2 separate regions of the Homo sapiens genome follow, and region 2 is linked to region 1. The links are contacts of gene promoters, found by promoter capture Hi-C in human tissues and cell types (Jung and others, 2019). All regions are on one chromosome and are shown on one strand. The core of a region is centred on a gene start or on the middle of the fragment in contact, and the rest is flanking DNA. Distances in the headings are between cores, read along the strand shown. Region 1 holds the start of KBTBD7 (kelch repeat and BTB domain containing 7). Region 2 overlaps VWA8 (von Willebrand factor A domain containing 8).

Evidence for each region. Contacts are between HindIII fragments. The study calls those that stand out against the background at their distance.
Region 2: a contact is called between a fragment that was not itself captured here and the fragment with the promoter of KBTBD7 in region 1, in 1 of the 25 tissues and cell types used here (dorsolateral prefrontal cortex).

What each region holds. Positions count from the first base shown.
Region 1 is chr13:41,191,557-41,197,263 of GRCh38, forward strand. It overlaps KBTBD7 (kelch repeat and BTB domain containing 7), which reads right to left and starts at 3,013. Exons shown (of 1, transcript NM_032138.7): 1 at 1-3,013. The coding sequence starts at 2,701. The coding sequence ends at 647. All of the region lies in intron 3 of KBTBD6-DT (KBTBD6 divergent transcript), which reads left to right. RefSeq lists enhancers at 1,755-2,462, 2,463-3,169, 2,514-2,783, 3,094-3,183. The HindIII fragment of the contact is 7,226 bases long and covers 1-5,707 here.
Region 2 is chr13:41,915,123-41,920,726 of GRCh38, forward strand. The region is part of intron 2 of VWA8 (von Willebrand factor A domain containing 8); the gene reads right to left. Among named protein-coding and RNA genes, the nearest start is that of VWA8, 43 kb to the right of the region's middle. RefSeq lists enhancers at 1,574-1,653, 2,763-2,882. The HindIII fragment of the contact is 3,772 bases long and covers 1-3,595 here.

The DNA of each region.
Region 1 (5,707 bases), core at 1,763-4,262:
TTTTTTTTTTTTTTTTTACTTTCTGTGAGCTTATGAGGCCATTCTGCACATTATCAAAATGAAATCATTATGCAGTAACCTTATATATATAAATCCAATTTTTTCCTTTGTAGAAGAAAACCAAAATAATTTTACAAACTACATTTAACTTAGAATATAAAGAACTGACTAGTGTAAAATTTTGAAAATCTACCACTTTATTTTGAAGGAAAGTACACATCCTTCAAAACCCCGCTAACAATTCCTAGTTCAGTTTTCTATTATACAAATCAAAAAGTTAAATTCCTTGTGGCACTAACCAAAACTTAAAAATTAACAGAAGACTGAATTAATTAAAAAAAAAGCATACTAACTAATCAAAACAATCCACTGTGCAATGAATATTTGAACAATGAAAAAAACCTACCAAGCATCCTAATCAATTATATAGTTCTTGCTTCCATATTTTAATTCTGGACTTTCAGGATGGTAAATTATTAAACAGGTCGATTTCATGGACTGTCTAAACCTTGTAGTATTTCAAAATATTACCCTTTCTAAACCAAATCTGTGGTCCTAATCAACTTTTTTTCCAAGAAAAAGAAACGATATGTGTTTAAAATACATTCCGTAGCAGTAGAAACATCTTAGTGTCTCAAAATACTATTTACAAAGAACCCTGCTGATCCTGTGCATTTCGCTGAGGTGCTACTTGCACCCAGACTTCATCATCTGAAAAAGAACTTGAACTTCCTGACTCAGAGTCCAGCTCACTGAATCCATCTAAGTCCCATTCAGTACTAGACTCACTCCGTGCATCATCTTCCTCAGTAATAAAACTCTGACCAGGTTCAAGGCAGGAAGGATAAACACGAGCACAAAGGCAAATAAAGCCAGAGTCAAACTGCAAAAGGCCTAACATGGTACCTATATTAATCCACTGATCTTCCCTAGTATCATACTCATACACTGTCACTCGGTTCTTTTTCCATTGTGGGGTTGTAGAAGTGATGAGAAGCAACTTTTGGTCATGATTGACAATCTGGTAGTTGTGGGTCTCTGAATCCAAAGGAATATTACTAATCCGCCTCCATTCTCCCCTAGCTGGGTTGTAGACCTTCATGACTGGGATGTCACAGATACAATAGATTTCATCATTGAAGACACATGCTTCCTGAAAGTCACTACGTTTAAGAGAAGCACAGTTCAGCCACATATTGTGGCTAGGATCATAGCAAAGCATGCGCTTACTGTTGACAGCATAAAGATAGTTCTGAACCACTATGAGTTCAAAGGAATAGAAGGAATGAGGGACAGGAGCCACCAATGCCCACTGGTTTCTCTGAACACTGTAGCATTCCACTTCCTTCAACTTAACTCCAGTAATAGGGTCTCGTCCCCCCAAAATGTAGATGTAGCCATTGAGATATGCCACATCCATGCCCTCACGACACAGCAAGCGATCTGCAAGTTGCTGCCAACTATTCTGAGCTGGTTTATACACCCAGAGGTCTTTCCTGGGCTGAGCAGCTAGATAGATGTCATGGTCTGGGGACACACAGACAGCTGAGGAGGTGACAGTCTTAGTGTGAGCAAAGCTGGTCAAAGGGGATGGCATTGTGTAAATGTCCCCCGAGTAAGGGTCATAGCAGAGAAAGGGATCTCTAGGATGTCCAAAGAAGATCACCATCTCCTTGGCACACATACCCAGTCTCTGGGGTGGATTTTCTGCTGCAGATACAAGAGAGTTGCTGCTGCTACTGCTGCTGCTGCTGTTTGGCACTGGCACCAGAGACTTGTACAACAGGTCACCATAGCGCATCTGCAGGGCCCCTTCAATAACGTCCAGGCAGTACTTCTTCACGATGGGCTTGGTCAGCAGCCCTTCTAAGTAGTCCTGATCTTCTTCAGTGAAGTGCATCCAGCGCACGCACTTGAAGACTTCTGCAGCACTGGGACCCCGCTCTTTGGCAGCAGCCTCCAGCCACTGCACAGCTACATGGCATACAGTCCGCTCACTCTCTATGTCCAGACTATCCAGGCGTAGGACAGCCAGCAGCTGGGCCAGGGTTAGATCTGCTAGAGTCTCCTCCCGAATTGAACCCATTCGGCTGAGCTGCTTGAAGTTGTGAGCTATGTAGGACTGGGCCTGAGATCGAAGCTTGTGATGGTCGAAGGCGTCTGCAAACTTGAGGATGGCGGTGCAGTTGGTCAGGTCAAGACGTCGGGCTAAGAAGGAGGCACAGGCTTCCCGCACATATTCCAGCTGTAGCATGTCGGAGGCCGCGTACAGGCGCTGCACATTGGCCTCACTGAGAGACACACGACCCGTGTAGCAGTAGTCGACCAACACCTCGAAGGACTCGGCGTCCACATCGTGCATGGTCACGCTGGCCTGCTGGCTCTCGTACATGCCACCTGTGAACATGCTCTTGAAGTAGGGACACGCAGCTGCTAGCACGTTGCGATTGCAGGAAAAGAGGCGACCCGTGCCAGGCCCGCTGCCAGGCGTCACCACCTCGATGGTCACATCACACAGCAGCCGCGCGTCGTAGAAGGACTTGAGCTGTGCCAGCAGGGCTGCAGAATGGGCCGTGTCCTTTAACTCCTCTGGACCCGTGAAAAAGGCCGAAACCGAGGGCTTGGAAATCCTCTTGGGCCGCCTCCCACCACGGGGACTGGCGAGGCGGCGAGAGCGCGGGACGTCTTCCCGGGACTGCATGGTGGAGATGGCGACGGGCGCTGACGGCGAGAAAGGCTGCAGGACCAGGCTCTGGCTCCTCCTCAACCTTCCCTCGCTGACGCTAAGACAAGCCGCGTCCTGGAACAGACTGCGGCACGGGCCGCACTTCTGAATTCAGCCCTATCCCGCGGTGAGGCCTCCCTTTATTGCATAGACAGTGGCTGACTCACCCTCTCTCACTCCCGCGCCCTTTCTCCGCCTCCGCTCGCCCTCACAGGACCCGCTGGCTTGCAGCCGCGGAAGCCCCCACTGCCGCGCTGGCGATCCCGCTAGGCGCCCGGGAGAACTACTGCTCCCAGGTTGCCTTTCGCGCCCCGAGGCCTGCTGGGGCTCTCGGACGGCCGGGCGGGGACAGAGGGAAAGAAACCGCTTTGCATGTTGGGAGTAGTAGTTTGTGTAATATCGCGAGCTGTCCTTTAGTTGACTGCTCTAACAGTAGAAATTAATTCTCCTGGATTTGATGGTGAAGAGACTGTTGCCCAGGCTGGTCTTGAACTCCTGAGGGCTCAAATTATCCTCCTGCCTCGGCCTCTCAATGTGCTGGGATTACAGGCGTGAGCCACCGCCCCCTGCCAGTATTTCATAGGGTTTTGTGTGGTTCAATGATACCTTACATGGGATACTTAGATACATGTATGTTTTTGGTTAGAAGAATAGTAAAGCGTTACCCCGTGCCTAGAATGTAGCCAATAACTGTTAGATTCTCTTTTATAATTTATGATAAATGAGGCACCCACTAATTTGAAACCGAGTATTATTTTAAACCGCAAAATTTTACAAAGAATTTCTAGTTTTTAATGTTTATTCCTTCGAAAGATTTTGAAGGGCATTAACAATATTTTCAATATTAAATGATATCTATTGGTCTCGTTTAATAAGGATGTCTTAGACGACTAGGTTGAGGTCCTAAAGAACAGTATTAATAGATGGTCTCAAATACGCAAATCCAGCATATAAAAATAAATTATTTGCTGCTCTCACTAACATTTCATCTCTGGAGAGCAGGAGTATTTTCGTTAAGCTCCAAATATGAGTGTTTTCAAGTCGTCTAATACAGCCTCTTTCACTGCCGTTCCACAAATCAATTAACAGATTATGTAATTCCCTTTATTAAGGAGTTTTAGGGAGTATTTTAACTCAAAATATTTCAACAAACAGACTTTGTTCTGTACAAAAGCACATGATTCTCAGAATTCAACATCAGTACATGCCCTGACATTCCTTGAATTAATATATAGTATAGTCTATGCTTTACAAAGTCTTTTATATTTGCATTGGGATCAACAGTTAAATCATCAAAATCAAGTATTAGAGATTTGAGGCAGGAAAATAGGGTCTGGAGGCAGGGAACATAAGGCTGATTCACACTTTAGCTATAACAGGAAAGATCCTCTCCATAGGGTGTATGCTGAGTAAATGAGTTTGTAACTTTACTTCATTCTCTTCATTTACATAGGGTGTACACCAAGTAACCAGTGGAATCCTCTAGAGGGTATTTAAACCTTCAGAAATTCTGTAACAGGGCCCTTGAGCCCCTATGCTCAGGCCCGCTCCCCACTGTGGAGTGTACTTTCATTTTCAGTAAATCTCTGCTTTTGTTGTTTCATTGTTTCCTTGCTTTGTTTATGTGTTTTGTCCAATTTTTTGTCCAAAACGCCAAGAACCTGGACACCCTCCACCAGTAACAGACTTTTTCAGATAACTTTTATTACAAAACCATGACTGCTCCTGCTGCTAGTTTGTTATGTTACCATAACCTAATAAAGAAAATCATCAGTGTTACATGCATGTATGGATAACACATTACAAGAGAATAACTTTCAAATTGTTTTTCTCTTATCAGCTGAAGATAACTTCAACTTATCAGCTGAAGTCCACTGGAAATACTCTAGGGTAGACACATTAAATTAAGTCAGCCTCTGGGCTCTAATAACTCCTCTGTAAATAAAAAGAGATGTTAGATATCCCTCAGATACACCAGAGAGAATCAAGTCAGTCATTATCAGTAACAATGATTGTTTCCTGACTTGCAGTGAATACCAGCTGGGGAAAAAAGCCTTTTTTTTTTCTTTTTTTTTTTTTTTTTTGAGATGGGGTCTTGCCCTGTCACCCAGGTTGGAGTGCAGTGGCACCATAATAGCTCACTGCTGCCTCAAACTCCAGTGCTCAAGCAATACTTTGCCCTCAGCCTCCCAAGTAACTAGAGCTATAGATGCATACCACCACACCCAGTTAATTAAAAAAAAATTATAGACAGGGTCTCACTGTGTTGCCAGCCTGGTCTGGAAATCTTGGTGTCAAGCACTCTTCCTGCCTGAGCCTCTGAGTTGCTGCAATTACAGGCATGAGCCACATGCCCAGCGCAGGAATGGCCATTTTAAAAAACTTCTTAAAATATTGGTAAAATATACATAACACTAAATTTACCATTTAAACATTTTCAGTGTATAGTTCTTTAGCATTAAATATATTCACACGGTTTTGCCACTATCACAAAACTGAAGCTCTGTACCCATTTAAACAATAACTCTCTAGCCCCCACTTCTGGCAACTGCCATTCTACTCTTTGTCTCTATGACTTTTGACTACTCTAGGTACCTCATATAGGCAGTGACTGATTTTTACCTTCCTTATATCTGCTCTTACTGTGTTATTTGGTTTAGGTTACCTGTCACACAATTGAAGATATCTATTAGGCACTATTCCCTAAGATCTAGAGCTATGTGCTGTCCCATAAAACTTGGGAATATTTTATATTTGTGCTGGCTGATACAGTAGCCAGAAGCCACATGTAGCTCTTGGGTACGTGAAATGTGGCTAGTGCAACTGAGGAATTAAATTTAAAATTTTAGAAATACAGCATGATACCAATGCAATTCAATGAAGAAAGAAAATTCTTTTCAACAAATGTTATTGGAACAACTGGATCAAGAATGTAAGACAGAAAGTTGCCCTTGCCCCTACCTTACACCATAAGCAAAAAAT
Region 2 (5,604 bases), core at 460-2,959, 720 kb after region 1:
TAGCCATAATAGAGACATTTGTACAGCAGTGTACTTTCTTAAGTAGAAGAGAAAAGCATGGAGTTATTTAAAGCTAGAGCCCTGGGAATTATGTATAATCATGTTTATGCTCCTGGGAGTGTCTTCCACTTCAGCATGATGCACATGTACTGAGAAACACTGCCTTAAGGCACATCTGACTAGTCTCAGTCCTTCCTTTATTCTTAGCACTCAGCAGTGGTTCTCAACTGGTGACCATACTGCTACCATTCTAGGCCTGCCAGGAGGCATTTGGAAAATGTCTGGGAGTACTTTGGGTTGTTGTAAAGCTTTGGGAAATGAGAAATAATTTGGTACACCACTGATATTTTGTGATGGTAAATGCAATGACCAAGATGGTCTCATCCTGCCCAGTATGTCAATGGCACCATAGTTGAGAAATATTGTGTAGTCATTATTTTTTCTCAAGGCCTCTGTTGCCTGCACACCACTAATGAGTTTGTCACAATTAAGCCCAGAGAAAGAGTTTCTCTCTATTTCCTTTACCTTCTGAAAGATAAAACTTTTAGCGAGGAAATCAGTAGAGAATAAGTTCTACCTTTAGAGTAAGTCTGTAGGAGTTGTCAGGATATCTAAGGCTCTCATCATCACATTCCAATTTTACATAAGTTTCTTAATACATATAAGCTACTTCTGAATCCCATGGCTGGCCTTGTAGTCTATGGCATACCTTCACAAAGAAAATACATTTTCCCTGCTTTTATTCTCCCTCAATAACAATACTAATAATGGCTATAATTTATTGCATTCCTATCAGGTACCAGGTAAACATACAAACGATTTTTCACATAGGATCTCATAACAATTCTAGAAAGCAGCAGACCTATTGTATAAAGACACAGATTCAAGACAGATTGGCTGGGTTCAAATTCCAACTCTACTATTTACTAGCTATGTAACCTTAATCAAGTTATTTAACCTCTCTGCTCAGTTTCCTCATCTGTATAATAGATACAATTGTACTTACTTATAAAGTTGTTATGAGGATTATATTAAGCACTTAGAACAGTGTCTAATAACAGTAAATGCTGTGTTTGTTAAATACTCATTACTCCCATTTTACAATAAGAAAATCAAAATTGGAAATGTAGTATCATTTGTCTATAGCTGCTAAGTCCATAAACCAAGATTTATACCTAAGTTGTTTAAGTCCAAAACTTGTATTTCAGTCATTATGTTCTACAGTCCCTCCAAAAGCTTTTCAACAGGTGTCCAGCTTCAGGTGCAAGACTTTCCCTACAAGTGTGGACCTCTCAGGGCTACATCAAATTTAGCAGACTTGCTGTTCCAGCCATTAGTTCTACTTCTTTTTGGTGGTATCAATGGTATGTTTTATTCCTTTTATTAAAATTTCAAAGTTATTTTGTAATGAATATTATGTTATCAGAGGATCTACTTCTCAAAGAAAATCCAACTTTCACTTATTCATGTTTTAGTATAGCGTATTTTACCAAAAAGCATGTCTATATTTAATTTGTCAGGAAATTGCACTAAACTACTGAAAGAAAGCATCATGCAGTGCTATGTGGTATCTGTGGTATATTTTACATTAATGCTTGAAACTAGCTGTATTTTTAGAATGGCCTCAAGAAAACATGAGTCATACTTAAAAGCACGCCAGAAATAGAAACAAGATTCAAGACTGTACATTACGAACATCTGCAAAACAAAGTGCCAAACTGCCATGCATAACCTAATATAAACATAGCACAGTACACGAGAGAAATCCCCAACTTCAATGTTTTCAGGCACAAAATGCTACCTTCCAGGAGTCCACATAATAATAAACCGATGTCAAAATAATCCCAAAGAGCTTGATCCTATATTCTAAGATTCCTTTTCTATGTAAAGATAAAAACATGTAGTTCATACTGGCCTAAATCCCTGATTCAATTCCTAACCAATATTTGTTTTCAAAAAATATGTACTATTTTTTGCCCAGCCATATTCAAAGGCTTTAAAGTAATTTTATCATAGTTATCTAAATTATAATTTTCTCCCTTCATGAACTCAAATTTTCATACATATAAAAGTTAAAATTAAAATTCTAGAAAATTAAGCATAGGTCAGATTCTATTATAATAAATCCTTCAAAACTGTTGATGTTTTCTTAGTATCCCAAAAAGCAGCATAATATAATGGAGGAAAAAAAAAAGTCTTTGAAGCCAGACAGACCTACTGTGATTTTTCATCCTGTCTTTTATCCATGTCCTTAGACAAGCATTTTGACTCTTTCAGGTCTGTTTCCTTATTTTCTTTTTTAAATTTTTTAAATTATACTTTAAGTTCTGAGATACATGTGCAGAACACGCAGATTTGTAGTTTCCTTATTTTCAAAATAAAGATAATAATACTTATTGAGTATGGTTTGTGAGGATTATAGGTAAAGCACCATGCCCAGTCCCTCAGCCAATGAGAACCAGGTACGGGAGAATTATTCAAGTCTCATCCTCACCTGCAAACTCCTATCTCTGCTGTGTACCCTGGACACCAGGCTGTATAGTGTGGATTTGGTGGATATGAATAGGCTCCTGAGTTTACACTCAAATTACCTGCTGGGCCTAGAGGCAAATCTGAAGAATAAGGGAGAAAGGAACCCAGTACTTACTACATCCTCACTGGTAAAGCCTATGTTAGAGTACTTTCACTTGACATTTCATTACCATTTCATCACCCCACAAAATAGCTCAGAAAGAATCTACATCTAGGCCCATAACATGCCCCTGAATTTGATTTTTCTACCACATCACAACACAAGATTTCAAAGGAAGCATGACTAACCTCCTCACTGCAACTACGTGCTCATCTGCTAAACTTTCCCCTATTTACCATGTAACATTCTGTAGTTAGATATAATGGACATGAAGGGTGAAAATATTTAGCACCAAAGTCCTCATTATTTACAACACGAACTAACTGAACTAAAAAATTAATTTATTCACACAGCTATATTTATTAAGGACCTACTATATGCTCAGCACCAAGAATACAAAGATGAATAAAATAAGGTTCTTTGAAGACATCAAAAGAAAAATACATATATAAAACATCAGCTTACGTAGCTTATATAAAGCCAATCATTTATAAAGTGGGCTGATGTTTCTATGATCCAATATAGCTGTTATCAAAACTAAATCTACAGCACTGGCCAGCACAGTGCTCAGCACAGAGAAGATATTCAGCTTTTCTTAAAATTGGAAAAATTCATCAATATGTATGAAATAATTATACATATCCATATTCAATGACTAAGTGTCATGTTGTTCACTTTTTGTGTAAGGGTACAAAAATAAGAGTATACATGTATATTTGCTTGTGTTTGTATAGAAAAATGCAAGACAGATTCCCCTGAAACTAATACTGTGAGAATTAACATGAATGAAAATAGGGGTGAATATATAATTTCTCAATGTATATCTTTTTATATTGTTTTGATTTCTGAATGACAAAAATATATTAGTTCTGCAAAAAAGTTATTTTTTTAAAGTCATGCTTTAGAAAATATTTTACATAAGGAAATGTCCACAATATGTTGCTTTATGAAAATGGTCTGTACATACAAAAGTATGGTCTGCAAATAAAAAAAGGTAAGAAAACATTCTGTATATACAAAATAGTATATACAGTACATACTATTATTTTCTTAAATGATACACATATACATAGTCATTTTTTAAAACACTAGATACGTTTCACAAAGATTCAAGCCATACAAAGTGTGTTCTCCGACCAAAATTAAATTAAATTAGAAATTAGTAATAAAAAGATCTTTGGAAAATCTCCAAATATTTAGAGACTAAACAGCATAATTCTACATAGCACATGGGATCATTGCTAAGTGGTATCAGTAAGATGGCTGACTTGAAGTTCCTAGCACTCCTCCCCCATAAAAAAACCAAGCCAAACAAATGAAAAAACGACATTTCCACCAAAATAAATAAAGGAGAGCCCTGGAGAACTGCAAAGGAGTAGGAGAAATCCTGTAGAGCACAGAAACCCAGGATGGCCACATAGAGAAGGAAAGGAAACTTTGCCTCTGCCAAGGATGATCTCAGCCCCTATTTGGGGATCAGCTTGGACCCAGGAGGTATTTCTCTCTGCAGGAAAAAGGTAAGCAGAAGGACACTACCAGCTCGCATCACTACTATGGATACCTGCAGTCTTTGCTACCAGAGATTCCTGCAGTCCTCACAGGCTCTGAGCCCAGCTGAGGGAGCTCCCCAGAGTACACATTCTGTGCTACTCCCAGAGAACAAACCGACACTGTGCCTTACCCCAGTCCCCTGCCTGAGCTGCTACTGTGTTGTAACCAGAGCCACTGCTCCAGTGCATCCTGTTCCAGGGATGGGTAGTCATTGCACCCCTCCATCCTGGAGGCTTTGCCATCACTGCAGCACAGCTACCTGGTAGCCCCCAATCCCTGAATTTAGCTACTGCTATGCTCCAAGTTACCCTGAAGCTGCTCCATCCCCTGCATCCCAGACATTGGTGTACCCTGCCCTTCAAGGCCTGAGCTGAAGTGATGCTCTCACTGGGGACCCACAGCATCAAACTACCCCCAGACACCACACCCATGCAACATCCTATCCTCCTGGATGCCCCAACCCTCCAGCACACCAGAGAAGATGTCCTACCCAGTGCCATAGCCGACACTGTACCCTGCCTCTCAGGGACCTAGCACCTCCTCCAACCCACGTAGCTGTATATTTTAGGGCCAAGCTGATACGGCATCTTACTTCCAGGGAATCACAGCCTTGGATGAGCTGTGCCTCTGCCCTACAGGTCAAATGGCCAAAGGGCCTTTCCTCCCTAGAACAGGACTAGGAACTCAGAATCTGAGCTGCTGAGGAGCCCCACCTCCCGAGGCAGTAGACTGAGGCTGTACTGCTCCCTGTCCCCTGGGCCGTATCTGTGCCTTGCCATTTCTGGGTTCTTGACAGTGCTGCACCTGGCTGCACAGAACCTGGGCTATTGCTGAGTGTCACCATCCCAGCATCAAGAGTAATTAGTGTGTGACATCTCATCTCCCAGGGCTCAAGTTGCCACTGTGCCCTGTTGATTCTAGGTCCCAAATTGCAGCTGTGCCCTATTCCCTGGGGCCTGAACCTTTGAGGCTCCCCTTCTTCCCTGGAGCCATGCCAGTTCTGCACACTGCCCTCCATGGTCAGAGCCACAGCTATATTCCTGCCCCCTGGGTGTAAGCTGTTAGAAAGTGCTTCAGAGGCAAGAGCAAACACATTCAAAAGCTAGCAGAAGGGAAGAAATAACTAAGATCAGAGCAGAACTGAAGAAGATAGAGACACAAAAAAAACCTTCAAAAAAATCAATGAATCCAGAAGCTGGTTTTTTGAAAAGATCAATAAAATTGATAGACCGCTAGCAAGACTAATAAAGAAGAAAAGAGAGAAGAATCAAATAGATGAAATAAAAAATGATAAAGGGGATATTACCACCGATCCCACAGAAATACAAACTACCATGAGAGAATACTATAAACACTTCTGCACAAATAAACTAGAAAATCTAGAAGAAATGGATAAATTCCTCGACACATACACCCTCCCA